Linked DNA regions of Homo sapiens: regions 1, 2, 4, 5, 6 and 7 are each linked to region 3. Evidence: promoter capture Hi-C in 16 types of primary human blood cells and fetal thymus (Javierre and others, 2016). All regions are on one chromosome and are shown on one strand. The core of a region is centred on a gene start or on the middle of the fragment in contact, and the rest is flanking DNA. Distances in the headings are between cores, read along the strand shown.

Evidence for each region. The method cuts DNA at HindIII sites, captures the fragments that hold promoters and counts their contacts. A CHiCAGO score of 5 or more calls a contact.
Region 1: a contact is called between a fragment that was not itself captured here and the fragment with the promoter of MEF2C-AS2 in region 3, in 2 of 17 cell types (naive B cells and total B cells). The highest score is 8.8, in naive B cells.
Region 2: a fragment that was not itself captured here is called in contact with the fragment with the promoter of MEF2C-AS2 in region 3 in 1 of 17 cell types (neutrophils); the score reaches 5.2 in neutrophils.
Region 4: a fragment that was not itself captured here is called in contact with the fragment with the promoter of MEF2C-AS2 in region 3 in 4 of 17 cell types (naive B cells, total B cells, monocytes and 1 more); the score reaches 10.1 in naive B cells.
Region 5: a fragment that was not itself captured here is called in contact with the fragment with the promoter of MEF2C-AS2 in region 3 in 1 of 17 cell types (neutrophils); the score reaches 5.3 in neutrophils.
Region 6: a fragment that was not itself captured here is called in contact with the fragment with the promoter of MEF2C-AS2 in region 3 in 1 of 17 cell types (naive B cells); the score reaches 9.8 in naive B cells.
Region 7: a fragment that was not itself captured here is called in contact with the fragment with the promoter of MEF2C-AS2 in region 3 in 2 of 17 cell types (total B cells and naive B cells); the score reaches 8.0 in total B cells.

Annotation. Positions count from the first base shown.
Region 1 is chr5:90,532,603-90,535,629 of GRCh38, forward strand. No RefSeq gene overlaps it. Among named protein-coding and RNA genes, the nearest start is that of LYSMD3, 4.5 kb to the left of the region's middle. The HindIII fragment of the contact is 7,271 bases long and covers 1-3,027 here.
Region 2 is chr5:90,497,889-90,500,588 of GRCh38, forward strand. The region is part of intron 5 of POLR3G (RNA polymerase III subunit G); the gene reads left to right. Among named protein-coding and RNA genes, the nearest start is that of POLR3G, 24 kb to the left of the region's middle. The HindIII fragment of the contact is 1,997 bases long and covers 312-2,308 here.
Region 3 is chr5:88,674,902-88,677,776 of GRCh38, forward strand. It overlaps MEF2C-AS2 (MEF2C antisense RNA 2), which reads left to right and starts at 1,317. Exons shown (of 4, transcript NR_146284.1): 1 at 1,317-1,362. The region is part of intron 1 of MIR9-2HG (MIR9-2 host gene); the gene reads right to left. RefSeq lists enhancers at 289-388, 826-1,391. The HindIII fragment of the contact is 5,913 bases long and covers 1,205-2,875 here.
Region 4 is chr5:90,396,198-90,398,941 of GRCh38, forward strand. The region is part of intron 4 of CETN3 (centrin 3); the gene reads right to left. Among named protein-coding and RNA genes, the nearest start is that of CETN3, 12 kb to the right of the region's middle. The HindIII fragment of the contact is 442 bases long and covers 1,173-1,614 here.
Region 5 is chr5:90,599,917-90,602,617 of GRCh38, forward strand. All of the region lies in intron 1 of ADGRV1 (adhesion G protein-coupled receptor V1), which reads left to right. Among named protein-coding and RNA genes, the nearest start is that of ADGRV1, 42 kb to the left of the region's middle. The HindIII fragment of the contact is 7,323 bases long and covers 1-2,701 here.
Region 6 is chr5:90,307,948-90,310,647 of GRCh38, forward strand. No RefSeq gene overlaps it. Among named protein-coding and RNA genes, the nearest start is that of LINC01339, 19 kb to the left of the region's middle. The HindIII fragment of the contact is 151 bases long and covers 1,209-1,359 here.
Region 7 is chr5:90,555,075-90,557,975 of GRCh38, forward strand. No RefSeq gene overlaps it. Among named protein-coding and RNA genes, the nearest start is that of ADGRV1, 2.3 kb to the right of the region's middle. RefSeq lists an enhancer at 2,343-2,844. The HindIII fragment of the contact is 298 bases long and covers 1,427-1,724 here.

The DNA of each region.
Region 1 (3,027 bases), core at 465-2,964, 1.9 Mb after region 3:
TTATGGAGTGAAACTTAAAAAAAAAAAAAACTCCCACATCTCTGATCTTCAAATAACCTATGTAGAGAGAAAATTATTGTGTCTCTTCTCTCGAAGTGTTGGAAAAAAACAGACTGGATGATTTGGATATGTTCTGCTAGCAGGTGTACCACATGACCTCTCTAGCTGCCTTTAATCCTGTGATTTTTAAACATAATGATTATTGTAATCATGGCTTTGCCATAATGTGGACAAAAGAAGAGTCAGATATACTTCAGGAATCCAAAGCTGTTTATAAATGCTAGTAATTAATTCATGGATCTTAAACATGACTTGAAAACAACCATCTTCAAGTCTTCATCCATGCAGACACGATGAAAACTAGCCTCACAAATACTATCCTTATACTCTTTAGCTAGGTGGTTGGTACATGTAGAAAGGAACAGTTACATCTTTATATTTAAGTAGACTATAATTTGAAATGCTTTGTTTCCCATGTCTCTTATAATCACTACTGTCACATAGGCAAATCAGTGCAGGTGAATTCCCCCAGAACCTGCATCCTGCTTGTTTTCGTGCCTACTTCTCCAGAGATTTAAGATGATAAGACAGTATGTAATTAAGTTCACTAAACCAAAGGAAAACCTGAGGCATGACCCAGTCTATGGAATTGGGTGATGATAGATAGTGATCACCCAGAAGTGGAGAGCAAGTCAAAATGGAGTACAGAGAGTGGACGTCCAGTTTGATTTCTTAGGTCTTCAGCAGTGCATTCACAGAGACAGGAAAGATAGGGAGTGGGGAAGAATAAAAGGATAATGGGAGAGGCAACAGCATCTTCTCTTTCTAGTCTAGGTCTTTCCAGATAGAGACCACTTCTGTGACAATCCTCAGCTTAGTCAACACTATCTGACAAAACCAAGCAAGAATTTCAAAAGCAAAACTTCCGTGCTCATTTAAAGAATAATAGTGAGGTGTACATGCATACCTAAAATGAAGGTAGTTGCTTATCTGACAAAATATAGACAGAAATTACATCTGTTCATTCAACAAATGTTAATTAAGCAGCAACTGTGTTTCAAATCCTGCTTTAATAAAGCATCAGGGACATGCAATGAACAAACAAACCCAAATCTTTGCCCTCTTGGAGCTTATGTTCTTGTGATGAAAGATAAAAACAAAATAAATAAATGAAATTGTGTTAGATGGTGATAAGTGAATGGAGGAACACTGAATAGGGTAGGAGCTGCAGTGTTTTGGGTTGGGGGAGAGTCTCCACCCTATGAAAATTCTCTATCCCTGAGAGAGGAACTGTGCCTAGAGTATTGGAGGAACAACAAAGATACCAGCATGGCTGGAGCAGATTGCCGAAGCAGCGAGCAGTAGGAGAAGAGGTCAGATAGAGCCAAATGGGAAAGGACTCTGTCAGCCACTGCAAGGACTTGGGCTTTCACCCTGAGCAAGATGGGAAACGATTGGAGGGTTCTGAGCAGAGGAGGTCATCATCTACCCTTTAAAAGGATCCCATAGGAAAGTGGAGGCAGCAGCAAGGAGATCAGTTAAGAGGAAATTGTAGTAATTCAGGCAAGAGGGAAGATGTCTCAAATTAGGGAAAAACATCAAGTATCACATTGATGTGGGTTAAAAATACTTGATTTAAGAATTTTTTCAAAGCCCCCGACTCTATGAGGATGCTCAATTTTAGTTTTAAAGATATTTTTCACTAGTTCCTTCTTGCATACTTTGATTAGTGACTCTGTACTAGGGCCTGTTTTCCACATTAATTCTAAATAAGCCAGATTTACCACTGTAGCAATTGTTGGATCTAAGTAAAGTTTCCATTCTGCCCTCTCACCATGTTTTCTTTTATTTACAGTTAAGATTGAGCTGAATTTTTTCCCCTTATTCCAAGCCTTAATCCTATCTGGCTTCTAAATCCCTTCAGAATTATTTGAAGCAAAGAATGCCTGCTGATTTCAAAAAACATTTTACACTTGGACTTACTTGATGGGGTATATAGCAAGGGTCGTGGAGGCTTCCTTCCTTTCCATGCAGAAAAATGTGTTTGGAAATGTATATACTAATCAATGAGCAATCTGTTAGTAAGAAACATACAGAAGCTCATTTCTTTGATTTGTTGTTTTGAAAAGTACTTATTTTTCTTTGGAGTATTTTTCAGTTTAAAATCTAATCTGTTATTTTGTAGAATAATCAATTTATATTAGTTGAAACTTGATTAACTTTCCTTTTATTACCCTGTCCTTAAGATCATACTACAGATTTGGTTATATATCACATAACAATATAAATGAACACTTGTTTTATAAAGATTTCTAATTCTATTGTTTCAGTCATTTCATTGAAAGATAAATATTACTACACCAATCTTCTAAGGAAAATTTCTTGTGTGTTATTCCTGGCTTTGTATAAGATAATGTTTATAGGCATTGTATGTAATGCTGATGCAATAGAAGGCATTATATTTAAAAAGAATGGCTTTACTGTATACAAATATTAGGATTGCTTGTAAGGCAAAGCCATAAAAGCATTGCGTAATCTATTCTAATAAAATAGATACGCTAGCCCTTTGACTTTATTTGGTTTTAGCAACTGAACAGGATAGAGTTTCGAAATGAATATGGTGAAAATAGACAAAAGGATTTATAGTAAATTTTTTCCTCCTGCTCTGTGTTACCTCCCATGAGCCTTGTTCACCTTTTTCTCAATATCTGCCATTACTCATTAAAATTCTGGTTTCATAAAAACTACAAGTAGAGACTGCTGTTGCTTGTTGTATGTGTGTAATGACAGCACTCAAATGCATTGCTAAAGGACTGGAAAACACAAGCAAGGATTATGATAAGAATGGTAACAACAACCACTTTCAACATGTATAAAGTTAAGGCAGTCTGCGCAAAACTGACATTTTGATAACTATACAAGGTGTTGTCAAAGTATGATCTCAGAACCCCTGCCAATCCCCAAGACTCCTTAGTAGGGTCCTCAAGTACTTTCACAATAATTCTAAGAAGTTATTTGCCTTGTTCA
Region 2 (2,700 bases), core at 60-2,559, 1.8 Mb after region 3:
TGAGCCCAGGAGTTTGAGACCAGCCTGGGCAACATAGTGAGAACTTGTCTCTACAAAAAGTTAAAACAAGTATTAGCCAAGTGTGGTGGCATGCACCTGTAGTCCCAGCTACTTGGGGGTCTAAGGTGGGAGGATCACTTGAGCCAAAGAGGCAGAGGCTGCAATTAGCCTAAACTGCACCACTGCACTTAAGCCTGGAAGACAGAGCAAGACCCTGACACTCTGTCTAGGACACTGACTCTCTCCCTCTCTCTGTCCCCCCATGTATGTGTGTGTGTGTGTATATATATGCATTATAACTATTTTGCTAAAGCTTGTTTTTTGTTGTTTGTCTTTTGGGTGTTTTTTTTCTTAGTTGTTGCCTTTTCTTTGTGTATGTCTTATTTTTTAATTTTTAAATGTTTTATCTTTTTTTAAATTTCTGTGTTTATTTTAGATACAGGGGTACATGTGCAGGTTTGTTACATTGGTATATTGCACTCAGGTAGTGAGTGTACTACCTAATAGGTAGTTTGTTAACTCACTCCACCCCGTCCTCCCCTCCCGACTTTAGTAGTTCACTGTGTCTGTTGTTCCCATGTTTATGTCCATGTGTGCTCAGTGTTTAGCGCCCACTTATAAGTGAGAACATGCAATATTTGGTTTTCTGTTCCTGCATTTATTCACTTAGGATTTTCCTTTAGTTATGGAATTGTGGAGCTGCTAAGAAAGACTTTTCAATTATTGTAGACCTTTTCATTTGCATAACTGCAGATTTTTTATTATACTGGCTACATTATAAATTATTAACTAAAACATTTTAAAATTGGGAAACCAATAAAATGGAGCTTTATGTTGTATAGAAGAATGCCAAAGTGAATGTTTACAGTTTGTTTTTCTTTAGTAATTTCATTCAGTAAATAGTTATCTATTATTGCCAGACATTGTGCTGACAGGAATAAAACTGAGCAAAGTGGGAATAATCCTTGTCCTCATGGAGCTTGTAGTCAAATGGGGTAAAATCACTAAAGAAAAACACACTGTCCTCATTGGGAAGGGTTCTTTGAGGACATGGAATTGGAGTTGAGATTGAAGGATGAATAGGAGTTTACTGAGACATAGTTGTGGGAGAGGAAGTAGGGAAATACCAGGTTTGTGAGAGAAAATCAGAAGTTCAGTTCAAAGATGTTACTTATGGTTCCTTTGAAATATACAAATATAAATGTTAAATATATTCTTGGATACAGGGGAATGGACCTCAAAATGGAGATAGCAGTCATTATCAGAGATATGATCATTGAGACCAAGAGAAAGGATGAGATGGTCTAGGGCAGAATTAGATAATTAGAAGAAAGGAGAGCCTAACCCTGAGCTTACAGGAATGCCAACATTTAATGGGCTGGTAGAGGAGATTGAATGGCAAAGAAGGGAACTGGAAAGAGAGAGGGAGGAGGAGAACCAGGAGAGCAGAGTTACACAAGGTAGTCTGGTATTTCGGAAGGTGGTCAACAATGTTAAAAGATGTTAGACATTGCTGCTAAGAGGTCAGATAGGACGAAGACTGGAAAATGTTCACTCGTTTTTGACATGTTGGTTATTGTGACCTCAGTGAGAGCTTTTTGAAAGATTCACTGAGGTAGAATCCAGATTGGAATGGCTTAACCGGTAAATGGAGCTTAGGAAATGGAGACAGCTAGCATAGATGAGTCTTCTTAGAATTTTGCTATGAAGAATGAAGAGTGAAAAAGGAAGGTAGTCAGAGAGGTTAAGAACAGTGGGGTTATCAACTAAGAGAAGAGAAGAGAAGGAATTCCTATTCCCCGTTTTAACACCTTTATTGAGATATAATTGACATACAATACAATGCACATATTTGAAGTACATACACAATTTACATTTTTTGCACATGTGTATTTAAGGCAGAGTATTTTTATTTTATTTTAAAGATACAGTATATAATCATATTTAGCTTGCATAAAGAATATTTTGAAATATGACAATTTATCTTCTGTCTTTTATACCGTTGGTTTTTATTGGGCAAATATATTATTTTCATAATAAAATACATGTGCATGAATGATACTGGTCATGTCCTAGAGGATCACACATCTGTAGTTGACTTTAAAGCTGAGAAAAATGTGTTCATTTTGGAAGAGTTAATGTTTTCAAATATGTTATCCCTGGGATTTTATACCCACATTAATCAGTAAAAGCTCCCAAAGTGTCAGGATTTCCATTTGTTAATAAACAAAGCAACAATGAAACTTTCTCATTTTGCTCTAGTATTTTTTATTACATATTGTGTAATTTTTATGTCTTGTTTCTGATAAGCTTGTACTGTCCTTTATGTTAAGATGTCCTCCATTAATTTACATGGAAGTAAACAGTAACAACAGAGTCAAAGGCTGAAAACAGTTGTTTCTTGAAGAACCAGCTACTGCCATGTGTTAAAAGAAACTATTCAAATATATGCAGATACTTGGCCAAAGATGGAAAAAAAAAATAAGTTTACTTACCTGGCCATATTCTCTAGTATCCCTTCAACAAAGGTTTATGTTATGAAATTAAATAATTTGATAAAAAGTTCTTAGAAAAAGACTTCATGATGTAAGTAGAATACATTCTTAGCTAATGTTTTTTGGCATTAATATTATAATAATTTATTGAGATCTTGTTCATATGTGATGCTATATTTTATGTGTTACAGTTCATATTAAACAG
Region 3 (2,875 bases), core at 67-2,566:
GCGGATGTGCACAGGGAGGTGCCAGCGGTCCGGTGCGCGGGCACGCACACGCCGGCGCGCAGGGCTGCCGCGGGCGGAAGGAGGGGAATGACAAGGCCTCGGCCGCGTCTCGGAGAGGCACTACCTCCGCGCTGAGGCCGCTGAGTTTCAAGTGCAAAACACCAGGCCAAATCCGGCAAGGCGGCGGCTACAGAATGGCTCACACTTCAAGCCTCCTTCCTCAAACAATCCGATGGGAAGGACCTGGCTGTTCAGGGGAAGCCTTTGCTGGCCTCTCTTTTTACATGGGGTGAAGTCGAACCCCAATCTAGGAGCCCTGGCCTAGATGGCTCCGCAGATGAGTCCCAGACGTGGCCATGGAAAGACTGATCTCTCTCTGCTCAGAGCGCCTGCCTCGGTGCTCACTAGCGCAAGCACCTCCCAACACACATACATACATACACACACACACACAACACAGCACTCCCATCACATTAAAACGCGCGCTCATGATCCTGCCGTTAATGAAGCCGAGGCGCATAATGAGTGCACAGGTAAATAGGTACCGAAACCAGAAGACTTCACCAGTCGGCTGGGCGATTTACCTCTCCCTACAGGGAGCACTTGTAGTTATCGTGTTTTAGGAGTGATTTGCTGTTGTCTGTGGTCTCTCGCTCCTCTTCTTGTGGAGAGAAGCCAAAAAATATATATGTTCCGTGGTCAGAGTCTTCTTTCTGATAAGCTACCCGAGCATTGGTCTAAAACATCTGTTTTATCTGTTGATTTTGGTTTGTTGTTTTGGGGAGTGTTGCTTTTCTGAGGGAAGCAAAAGAACGTGTGTGTGGTGGGGCTGGAAGCTCAGGGCAAGAGTCTGCGTGTGCGGCCGGAAGGCTGGCGAGTCTGAGAGCCGCGCGGTGCAGAAAGAAGGCGGCGGCTTGTCCTCCCCCGGGGCCGGCACTGGTCCCTTGGCACCCCGGCCTGGGCTCGGCTACTGCCGCCGCCGCCCGCGCTCTCGGGCTCCGCCGGCTGCCGCTCCGTGTTTTCCCCCATCCCGGCTTCACGTTCAAGGTTTAGCTGCGAGGTCACGTCCATTGACGTCAGCTCCCTGTCTCCCTCTACGTCCGGCTACATTTACATACATCAAGGAAATTAGGGCATTAAAAAAATATGCAAATCCTGCGCGAAGAGGAGCGGGTGCATTCCTGGCGCGATCGCCTTTTATTGAAGCTTTTAATTAAAGGGGCCAGTTGGCGAGCCCCTGAAACAACCGCCAAAACCCCCCAAAAGAGAAAAATAAACGCTGTAGCCTTCGAGAACGGTTGTTTCGGCTCCTGTTCTGTGGGCGGCTGAGGACCGCCGGCTGCCCGGCTCGGAGAAGAACAGGTTAGAGGAGGCAGCTCCAGCCCATGCATAATCAGGGCTCCGCGGCGCCTCCATTCTTTCCTCCTCCTCCTCCTCCTCCTCCTCCTCCTCCTCCTCCTCCTCCTCCTCCTCCTCCTCCTCCTCCTCTTCCACCTCTCCTCCTCCTCCTCCTTCTCCTCCACCTCCTCCTCCTCTTCTTGCTCTCGCTCCTGTTGGTTCCAGCGTGTATTATTTTTAATACTGATGCATATGTAAAGGTATATTTGCATTTTTTAATTTGCGAGAATTTCAGATTTTGTCATTTTATTGGTTCCCTTTCCCTCTTTTTTTTTTTGGAGGATTTTTATTGTTGTTATTTTATTATGTCTATGTGTCTCTCTTGTCCCTTTCTGTCTTTTTTGGCGAGTGTCTGCTGCTGTCTCTTGCTAGATAATATACACAGTTACCTCCCTGCTTCTGTTTATTTAAGGTTACAAATATGCACATCTGTCATGTATGCAATGCCAGCTGTATAACCTCCTGGTTTGGTCATAAAGGAAAATACACATTTTTTTTTCTTTCTTGACATACCTTGATGGGCTGTAGTGCCCATCGCTCAAGGCTCAAAGTTTGATTGTCTAATTAACTTCATATTAGCAGAAACACAGTTCGGGGCCAGTGCTTTCGAGATAATGTATGTATAAGTGAAGTGATTCCAAAGATTTCTAAATAATTTTTGTGCTGATTGCCTGAGAGGTGCGGCATTCCCCGCCCTATTGCTTTCTAGCATTTCTTATTGAAAAAAATATATATATTTTAAAATGGGTAGACACAGCAATGGACAGCCTTCTGCAAGGAAGACATTTTCAACCATGTTGTATGTTGTACCTTATTGGCTGCATTCAAAATTTACTGAGTTTCATTTTTATCTTAATATGGCTGGAAACAAGGCACATTATCTTGACTGAAAAGCATCCTTGATTCCTGACTTTGAAATGAAAGCAAATACACAAATAAAACAATTGGCTATATTAAACCAGTTGATGTGGCTTAAAATATACAGGCCTTGAGTTAGATTTCAAGCAATGGTAATCTTGTTTATAGGATCGGATTCTCTTTCTTGGCAATATAGCTATGCAGCACGATGGCTTTTTTCCACCTTTTAATTCCCCCAAGCTATCATTTAAAAAAGACTCAATCTATAATTGCAAACCCTGAAAGAACAGCAAGTATGCACACATGCAGCTTATTCAATTAAACAAGTCCAAGTACATGCACAGGTAATTAGTTTTCTTATGAATGACTTACCTGCACAGATACTCAGGCCAAGACTCAGCCCTCCCCAATGGCCTTCATGTATAAATATTCACATGTATTTCCCCCTATTTCAAACCTAAAGCGGTATGCCATCTTTCATGCTGGACTATCCAGCATCCATTTTCAGCACCCTTAACTCTTATGGAATTTCCAGCCTTACCTCTGGCTGTAGTTTTTCCAAGCCTACACCAAAGTGCTCATATGATATGTCACCCAATAAAAAGTGGTCAGATGGCTA
Region 4 (2,744 bases), core at 144-2,643, 1.7 Mb after region 3:
AAATAAGCTATGAGTTAGGAAAAATGCACCCTCCAGAAGCTGACAGGGAACTATGAAGCCATGCAATCAGTATTTAACATCTACAAAACACTATGACAAACATGGTAAGAACGTAATACAAAATCTGTAATACTCCAAACTACTTTCAAGAATCTTACAAATTGATGTAGTGATCTTTAACCTTTGCAGTTAAATAGCCATGTCTGAATATCTTAGGAAAGCTATGATCCCTCTCTCTTTCCAATAAATACAGTTCAAATATATAAAATTATTAATCAGTTTAGCCAGTGTGCACCTTCACTGAAGAACTCCCGATTTAGACTGAGGCATCTAGACCAAATAGGAAGCAAGAGTATGTTCTTAAGAACTGTATTAAGAGAAAAAACATAAAACAGCCTTAGAATGATTTGATTACAAATCATTTTAACAGTGTAATACATCCATGATTAAAATATTCAAAATCCAAAAAGTACTTGTTACTTAAAGATCTAGAACTTTTTCTTGATCTGTAAAATTTCAATACTCAAACTGCAAATTTTAAGTTTCATATATAAGTTTGAAAACCACAAAACACTTAATTTTTATATTGTTTATATACAAAAACTTTAAACTATAATAGCATTTCAAAAGTATTTAAAATACGGTCAGCCTTCTGTAACCACAGGTTCCTCACATCTGCAGATTCAACCAACTGCAGATGAAAAATATTTGGGAAAATAACACAATAAAAAATAATACAAATAAAATAAAGTATAACAATTTACATAGCATTTACATTGTATTAGGTATTATAAGTAATCTAGAGATGATTTAACGTATACAAGAGGATATGTGAAAGTTATATGAAAATACTATGCCATTTTATACAAGGGACTTGAGCACCATAGATTCTGGCATCCTTAAGCGACTTGGAACCAATCCCCTGTGCTTATCAAGGGACAACTGAATTCCATGATTCATACCTAAAAACACACTACTTAAACCCAAGAAAGTAAAAATTAGAAAGTGGCTCAGGAAATTAAACTAGCTACTTTACTTTAATTGTCTTGTAGACAATTAAAAGACAATCTTCTATATCTCTGTGCATTTGATTTTATAACCTTCTCTATTAACAATATCTTATATCAAGTTCCTATATCTAATAAATCTACCACAATGCCTAGCTTAAAATAAGCTTTGGTAAAACATTTATTGAATCAAGAAAATATGACACTTTGTTTCCTTTTATACTGCCTTCTTTAACAAAATTTTTCATACATCAACCATTTCATAGAGCAAATCTTATTACAAGTTGCTAACAATAAGAATTTTACAGAACTAAGTAGATTAAGTACCTTAGAGACCATCTGGCTTTGAAGGGGAAAAGCAAATCTTAGAATTGGAAGTTCCAACTGAGTATGTTGCTAATACACTGCTTCCTATAATAGCATGTAATTTTTAAAACTCCATAAACATAGAAGTCTAGTTAATATTTTACTTCATAGCCCGAAAGGCAATACAATATTACGTTTAAAAGCACATTCTTTGCCATTTTGGAGATTTGATTTTGAGTTCTGGCTCTACCATGTACAGTATTAGCTTTGTGATAACCTGGGCAGATTAATAATCTCTCAAAGCTTTAGCTTCCTCATCTCTATATATGCATCTATTATACACATGTATAGGTATAATACTATATCTACTTTACAAGTTATTATGGAAATTAAGTGACATAATTAATGCTAATATCCAATATAGTAGCTGCTAAATAAATGTTAAAAAACATCATCATTATTTAAAAGATTATCCATTCTGGCTTTTCAAAACGTTCCTTTCATTTTTTCCAAAAGATGTGCTGTGTTTTATTTTATATATGCTGTTGAGGGGGCAGGGGGAAGTGACTCTTTCTGTATCATTACCACAGCTTTATGTCTATCTTGTAGTACATCTTATTTACCTTTAACTTCACATTCACCATGTTTATTATTCTATATACCCAATATTTTTAAAATTTCATTGCTCTTAGATACTGAAAAGCATGAAAAAGTCACAAAGAGAGAAGAACACTAAAGTCCACAAAAAAGACAGCAAGGTCTAATCTTTAGCAGTTTAACATACAAATAAAGTGGTTTTTATCTCAACAAAACTTAGTTTCCAGCCAAAAGATTCCATATTAAGTGTATGAAAGTATCAAAACAATTTGTTTCTCTAAATGCTATAGGCCTTCAATGGAAGTCTCATGATTCATAGAGCGTTATGGGAAGCTTTTGGGAAAAAGATGGTGTTTAATATTTACCTGAGAGAATGAATCACATTTTAGCAGGCAGAAATTAACAATTAGAGCATTCTAAGATTAAGAAACAGCAGGATGAAACGAATAGCATAAAAATGTGTTTTCAGGATAGCATATGTTGACAAAATGTGTACATACAGGAGGTGAGGGTTAAAGAAGAAAAGTGAAAGAATACACTGGAAAGTAAAATCAGTTACTCAAGGTGGGATAGATCATAGAAGGCTTTGAACTTTACTCTGTAGGCACTGAAGAATCGTTTCAAGTGTCTAAACACAGAAATGGCATTATCAAATGTATATTTTAGGAAAAGAATGATACCAAGAGACTGAAGAAGAGATTAGAGACTTTTATATGCCGAAAGGGCAATTAGGACACTACAAGAGACTGCAAAGTGAAAGCAAGAACCACATCTGCCTTTTTCATTGTGTAGCACCAGTCAACACGCAGGACACTGCACCCAGTAGGCAGCCAA
Region 5 (2,701 bases), core at 132-2,631, 1.9 Mb after region 3:
AAGGCTCTTATTTTAATATAATTTTGTACAGTCCTTGAGGCCCTGTGGAAAATTGTTAATTGAAGGGATTGAATGTCTAAAAAATATTAAATATCTTGTTTTAGTTTGGTAAATGGCTCCTGGTAGTGACAATAGATAATATGACACGCAAATACCTTGCAAATGGGAAAGAGGTAGTACTTAGTTGGACCATAAGTGATCTTCCGGAGCTCTGCCTAATTCATTTGAGCATCACATATATATTTTTTATTATTATACTTTAAGTTCTAGGGTACATGTGCACAACGTGTAGGTTTGTTACCTAGGTATACATATGCCATGTTGGTTTGCTGCACCCATTAACTCGTCATTTACATTAGGTATTTCTCCTAATGCTATCCCTCCCCCTTCCCCCCACCTCACAACAGGCCTTGGGGTGTGATATTCCCCACCCTGTGTCCAGTTGTTCTCATTGTTCAGTTCCTACCTATGAGTGAGAACATGCAGTGTTTGGTTTTCTGTCCTTGTGATAGTTTGCTGGGAATGATGGTTTCCAGCTTCATCCGTGTCCCTGCAAAGGACATGAACTCATCATTTTTTATGGCTGCATACTATTCCATGGTGTATATGTGCCACATTGTCTTAATCCAGTCTATCATTGATGGACATTTGGGTTGGTTCCAAGTTTTTGCTATTGTGAATAGTGCAGCAATAAACGTACATGTGCATGTGTCTTTATAGTGGCACGATTTATAATCCTTTGGGTATATACCCAGTAATGGGATGGCTGGGTCAAATGGTAGTTCTAGTTCTAGATCCTTGAGGAATTGCCACATATTTAGCCAGAATAATAAAATGTTTATTTTTCTTCATATCATTGGTAAATTCACACAATTCCATTTTGTGTCAAAAGTAATAAATGAAAGTGAGAACCAGAAAACAGCACATTGTGAACAAAATTAAATAAAGACCTACTTCTTTTTAAAAACAAAAATTAAAAAAAAGATGCATTAAAAAAACATTCAAAATATCCTTTCACTTAGAAGCAAGGGAAAACCCGGCCGAGCGCAGTGGCTCACGCCTGTAATTCCAGCACTTTGGGAGGCCGAGGCGGGTGGATCACCCGAGGTCGGGAGTTCAAGACCAGCCTGACCAACATGGAGTAATTTCGTCTCTACTAAAAAATACAATAATTAGCCGGGCGTGGTGGTGCATGCCTGTAATCCCAGCTACTCAGGAATCTGAGGCAGGAGAATCACTTGAACCTGGCGGTGGAGGTTGCAGTGAGCCAAGATCACGCCGTTGCACTCCAGCCTGGGCAACAAGAGTGAAACTCCATCTCAAAAAAAAAAAAGCAGCAAGGGAAAACGAATTCTTGTAAATAAGCCTTGTGTTAAATAGGAACTCATATCTGTGGCAATAGGCTTTTTAGAATTTCATAATATAACAGACTTTTTAGAATATCATACCACTAGGAACTCCACTTACCAAACCTGAGATGCAGCCAAAACTATACATGAAGCAAAACCGTATCTTTTAAATAATAAAAAGTAACTTGGTTTTCAATTTATGAATCTTAAAAGAATACCGTACTAAACCAATCAGGATAGAGAATTGATAAAGATTAAAAATGAAATTGATGAATTAGAAAACAGAAAAACATTGGACTTAATCCCAGATCAAAATAACCAAATAAAGTCAGTAGTCTTATAACTTCATTTTACAGAAGAGGAAGTAGACTCAGACGTTAACAATAGACTCAAACATTAACAGCCTGCTCATAGTTGCCCTGCTGGTAAGTATCAGAGTACTCTAAGGGCATAGATGCTAGGCTCTGCTGCATTTTTTTCAGTGTGAAGATTGGAATTATCCAACTGGCCAATTAGTCTAAATTCTGGGTAACAGTTTATAGCTTTAATGGCTAGAAAGTGGTTTGCAAGTGATACTGCTGGAGGCTATAATTGCTTGAGGAAGCCAAGGAAATATAGTAAAAACCAGCAGTCATTTGGGGATTGCTGGAGGCTTGGACAATAAGGGTATACAGGCATCACTACAGCCTGGAACATTATGATCAAGAGCCTTATTAACAGAAGAAATAATGAACGTAGACACATGATTTCAGAGAATATTTGAAGAGGAAAATCTGAAATTGTTAATTAGCCTTTTGGCAACACATCTCCATAAATGTATGCTGTAATGATCCTGTATTCCATTAATTCTTTTAGACTCCCGTATGTGTATCCTATTCATCATCCAATTAGATTCCATTCCCAAATTCTGCAGATTTACAATACAACATCCTGACAATGTTTCGATGCCTGGTACAGTTTTTAATATGTCGGTAGATAGATGGAAGGAAGTAAGTTTGTTTGATTTAACGGAAAACAGTAAGAAATTTTCGAAAGGGGAGAGGGGTGCTATACATAATGACTTCCTTCCAAAGTAGTTGGTATGGAAAAGAGGGCAAGAGTAACTTTGCAGTGGAGCACCCTGACAAATACCACCTCGGCCAGGTAACCAAGCTCGACACCAATAGTGATAAGTCATGTTGATAGTATGTACCTTTTGTATAAGTGATGAGAAAGTCTTTTTGCCTTTTTGGTCTTCCCCAAAACCCATAACCCCAGTCTAATCATGAGAAAGTTATCAGACAAATCCCAGCTGAGGGACATGCTACAGAATACCTGACCACATTCCTCAAAAGCGCCAAAGTCATCAAAAA
Region 6 (2,700 bases), core at 34-2,533, 1.6 Mb after region 3:
CACTAAATATCTGAAAGTAGATATAGAAACTTAAGAAATAGAGGGCTCTAGGAGGCTTTTAGTAATAGAATTTCTTCTACAACACTTGACAGATGATCATTCAATCTGGATTATCGTTGAGTGCCCTTAGTCAGTGATAAGGAGTTACAGTAATAGTCATTCCTTGTTGAATGGATCTAATTGTTATCAGAATTTTTCCCTGTTTCAACAGTTAGCAGCCCCATGCTGTCTACCGAATATTCCGAAGCCAAAAAAAGAAAAGTCTATTTTTCCCCCAACATGATAGGTTTTCAAATATTCAAACACTCCTTCCACGTACCCAGGTTTTTGGTTCCAAACCAAAGATTTTTCAGTTGTTTTCTTATAACATACTTTCCAGACGCTATACCTTCCCAGTTTCTCTTTGACACTCTCATATGATAATGTCCCTATTAAAGTGTATAAGCGTGGCTAACACCATGCTTCAACTAACACAGCCTAAAATTGCACACCTTAACAGTTACAACACATTTTTTCAAATCTCAGAGTGGTTTTAGGATTAACCATAATGCTAGGGTCTTTTCAGTATCACATTTTTTGACATTTTATATTACTTTAATAATCATAGGACTTTACGTTAATATCTGAAAATGTTAACTAATTGTTTTTAGTACCTCTTTCCAAAGAGTTTTAATTTTCAATCAGAATTGAGGCATACCCATTATACCTAAAGTTAATATTATTGTTAATTTTTATAACCTTGGAGCCTATTTCCAAAACCATAAAAAAGAATGTTTGAGTAACTAAAGTTAGAAAATTTCATTAGAGAAAGTCTCAGAAACTAACATTGGTGCATTAATCAACCAATTTTCTTTGCATTTTGTTGTACAGTCATATGCATTTCCAGTTATTTGTGTTATCACCAATTTCACATTTTATTACCCGTTCAAAAAGTATGTGAAGAGGGTTGTCAAATAACCAAGACACTCTACACCATGGAATAATGCTGACCCACCAATTTAGCAATTCATAAAGAAATGGAAATAACATTAGTTAGTAAGGACTTTTTGCTGGTGAATACATGCTGCCACCCAGAGATTACATTCCATATTTCAGTGCACTTTGTCCCAGTTTATTTCTTCACCCAAGAAAAAGGATAACAATTAATTCTCTACAGGTATGACCTTGGAATTTGGATTTTAACTGTTATGAAATGTAAAATTTTTAAAAGCTTAAACATTAATGAAATTTCTAAGAATAGTCAAAGCAAGAAACAGAAATCTAGTATGGTTACTCAGTCCCAGTGGAATCTGGATGTTTTCTTAGTGACATGAGGTTTATCTCTGAGGTAGTAAATCATAAGATATTCTGGAGAAGACAAGCTTCATTTAAACACATACCTTATTAATGTTATCCAAAGTTGCATGCGTATTTGTTTTTAAATGCCTTCTCTTTCTGTCAATATTTGCTAACTTTCTGGCAAATACGAATAGGCTAGTAGCAAAGTATTCTTCCTTAGTTATGATACTATGTATGGTGAACAAATAAATGAACAAATGAATAAGTAAAAGATGAAAGAAGGGAAGGAGAGGGAGGGAGGAGGGAGAAAATTGTCTATTGAATAAATTCGTCTTGTACTGTCTCTGTTGGACATAAATGCTTTTCTTACTGGCTTCCAGTAGGAAAGGAAATTAACTAAATGGAAGAGCACAAAGGTATTATGAAAGAGGTACATCAATGATGTGAGACACCACTACCCAAGTTTTTACACAAGTTCTGGGATAGACTTGACTAACTTTTTCCAAATAGATTTTTAATTTTCAACTGAGAGAGATAAACTCTTTGAAGTCTAGCCCGTGGACTAACACAGAAACATAACAAGCCAGTTAAGATACACTGGTCGGCCGGGCATGGTGGCTCACACCTGTAATCCCAGCATTTTGGGAGGTCAAGGCAGGAGAATCACTTGAGTCCAAGAGTTCAAGACCAGCCTGGGCAACATGGTGAAACTCTGTCTCTACAAAAAAATACCAAAATTGGCCAGCTGCAGTGGCACACACCTGTTGTCCCAGCTACTTGGGAGGCTGAGGCAGGAGGATCACTTCAGCCCAGGAGGCAGAGGTCACAGTGAGCTGAGACCACGCCACTGCACTCCAGCCTGGGCAATAGACCGAGACCCTGCCTCAAAAGAAGACACAGTGGCCGGTGGCCTACTTGTAACACTTTAGAAAGCCTAATTTAAATTATAAAAAATTATTTAAAATATTCAATTATTTAAAAAATATTATCTTAATAAAAAATGATTCTAACATAAAAGACTTAAAATATAAAACACACTTTAAAAAACAAAAAAATTGAGATTAATCAATTTCTAAATAAAAAGAAATTGAGCTAATATAACCACATAATAAATCAATTATGGTATAAGTAGACTATGTAGAGATTAACTGGTCTATAATGCTTACCATGATATTGTGGAGGTAAAGATAACAAAACAAGTCTTTTTGTCATTAACGTTTCTTCAATTTCAGGTTATAGGATAATCCAAAAGGCTTTTTAAATATTCTCAATTTTTCAGAAGTAGTTTATTTTGTAAGATTTCTCATCATGTGTATTCCTTTTTTTAATCTTTGCCCTCAACATTAAGAAAGTCATTTGATTGTTTTTAATTTGCAGTATTCTGCCAGCAGCAAATGTGAATGACAATATTACTTGCTTTTC
Region 7 (2,901 bases), core at 326-2,825, 1.9 Mb after region 3:
TAATTATCCAGCCTCAGGTATTCCTTTAAAGCAATGCAAAAATGGATGAAGACAATTATAGAGTTCTAAAATGATAAACTAAAATCTATGGAGAATGTTACTACATATTAGTGTGCAAATGCAGTGGGGTTGGGGGACTGTTGATGTGACTGGGTGCCTTATTTTATCTTTAGATTCTAGGTGGGTCTGAACTTAAGAGTGGGGAGAGAAAGAGGAGTTCAAGTCCGTGGCTCCTGACAATCACTACTTTTTCTTTTCCTATCTGGGACCTAGGGCCCAAACAGAAAAAGCCTTTAAAGGCAGATTCGGGTACTCTCGAAGTATTATCCTACTTTTACTTTTGGGGGGTAAGAGAGAGTAGATATTGCCTGAACTTGATTTTGCTGCTTTGGTGAAATTCCTTTACGCATGCCTAAACTTAGATATGTGAAACCTAGGATATAAAAAAATACCATTTTCAAGGGAATATAAAGATCTTTTCACAAGATTTATAAGGTTTACTTAGTATGCAAGACTAATTAAATTGGAATAGGAAGGAAAATTGTATGACATCAGTACTTTTCTTATTGGGTTTAAGAAAACTAATTTATCTTTACTGTGTGAAATTTGGAGCTACTGGGTTGATTTTGATGAAGATTACTGTAGGAGAAAAGGCTTACATTCTACCATTGTTGCTTTTAGGCAGAATTGGGAATTGGGCTTTGTCTTTAGAACCTTAAGCTTTCCTTTCAACACCCTTATCTCTCAGTGGCACCTGACACCTCCCACCTCCAGGTGCCTAGTAATGCTTTTCCTTTCTTTTTTTCTTTCTTTCTTTTTAAATCAAAGCCTTTGAAGAACAAAGGATCTCTAAGATGTAATGATGGATGAGGTTTAAAGTATCTCTGATTCAGGCATATTTGTATTTTACATGGGATCAAGTCTTATGTTTTGTAAGGTTGGATTGTGAAATATAAAGAAATGAAAAATGGGCTCTGGGAAACTTTTTAATATGACAGGCTTTCAGGCCCTTCCTTCCTTTTCCTTCCTCCCTTCCTTCCATCCCTCCCTTCTTACCTCTTCCCTCCCTCCCTTCCTCCTTTCCTTCCTTCCTTCATGTACTGAGTTTCTACTATATCCCAGAGACTATTCTAGCTACTGAGTATAGAGCAGCAAATGACAGAGACATGCAAGCTACCCCCATGCAGCTTTCATTTTTATGGGGAGACAAAAACACCTAAATATCTTAATAAGTAAATGGGATATTTATTAGGGATAAGTTATAGAAATTACATAGAAGAGGGTAGTGGCTGAGAGTGGCGGTGAAAGTTATCAGGGCAGGTGCTTCCAAGGAAGAGATAGTTGAGCTACCCCTCAAATGAGGTCTATGATAGAAAGAGCCAGCCATATGAAGCTCTGCAGAAGCAGTGTGCCTGGCAGAGGAAAAAGCTTGTGCAAAGTCTTGGAGGCAGGAATGATTTTGCTGTGGTTGAGACAAAGAAAGAAGCGTCAGTGTGATAGGAATACAGTGAAATGGAGGGAAAGTGGTACTAGATGAGGCTGGAGAAGAAAAGAGAAATAGAATTATGTGAGGTCTCTTGGTCCATGTTAAGAAGTTTGGATTTAAGTTCAATGAGCATTTGTTTAATAATTTCAGCATTTGAGAGTATCTACACTACTTTGTCAAGTATTTGTACCACAATTACCAACTATGTTGTTTCTTGTGGTTTTATTCTTCAAAGCAAAGCTTTTTGGAGAAGCCTTCAGCAATCCATACACTCTCTTCTTCCTAGAGATTTCTAGCACTTGAGTGGCTTGTTTTTTGCATGGCATATTCTGCTTTTCGGTTGATTAACTTTCACCCCAGAAAGAGTGCAAATTAATAAACTTAGGGTGGTTTTAGAGATCACTGTTTTTCCCACAGTGCCTTACAGAGTCTTCTGCTTCCTAAACACTTAGTAATAATTGTTAATTACCTAGTTCCCTGAGGTAGATTGGGTGAGGGTGTAAATTTTCATTTACTCATCACAGTGCCTAGGGTAATGTCATACACAAAGTAAATATGCAAGCTGAGGAAGTCCAGTTGTGGGGAATGTGTTTAATCATGGGACTTGGTGAAACAAAAATTAAGATGGAATATTTGGTTGGTAGACGTTGACTTTGCCAGGGTATTTAGCCACAAATAAAGCCTTTACAAACGCTAATAAAACAACACTGTGGGTTGAATATACATTTTAGTAAGACGTTTTAAATAATCAGGAAGAAAACATTTTTCTGTTATTGTTTTCTGTTTTACATGTGACTACATGGATAATTGATTCACAGTTTTCACTTTAAGTTGCTTTGAAGTTACCGTTCATATATGGCAGGATTTAGTAAGCATGTCTGTCTGTGTCTACTCCGTTGATATGCTCGTGGATTTAAAGCCTCCAGACCCAGGTCCGACCTTTGTTGTTGAGCCTCACAGGAAAGCTGTTCAATCTCCTGGATCACCTAGGTTGCTATTCTCCCCACCTTTTGCAGCGCCTTGATGTGTCATTTGCATTCCCACACGGTTTCTGTATAAGAATCATTTAGTCTCAACAAACTTGCCGTTTGATACCCAGCTGTTTGTTGAGTATTGCAGCTTTCAGAGGAGGTGCTCAGCAACAGCTCATAATAACGCTAAATGAGTGCCCCTGGACGGCAGTATGTAACACAAAGTATCTAGTTATTCCTATTCCAATTAAGAAGAGTACTTGTGTGAGCTGCATTTAAAATGAGGAGGCTGAGAACCCATTTTTTTTTTCTATAAAAAGCGGTGAGTTGCTGTGGGAGTGCTAATCTTTCTCTTTGCTCCCAGTTTGAAACTTCCGTGATTCTAATAATGCTGCATTTGCTTTAAAAATCTCTGGTGCAGGCGGGGATGTGCACATTGCTGAT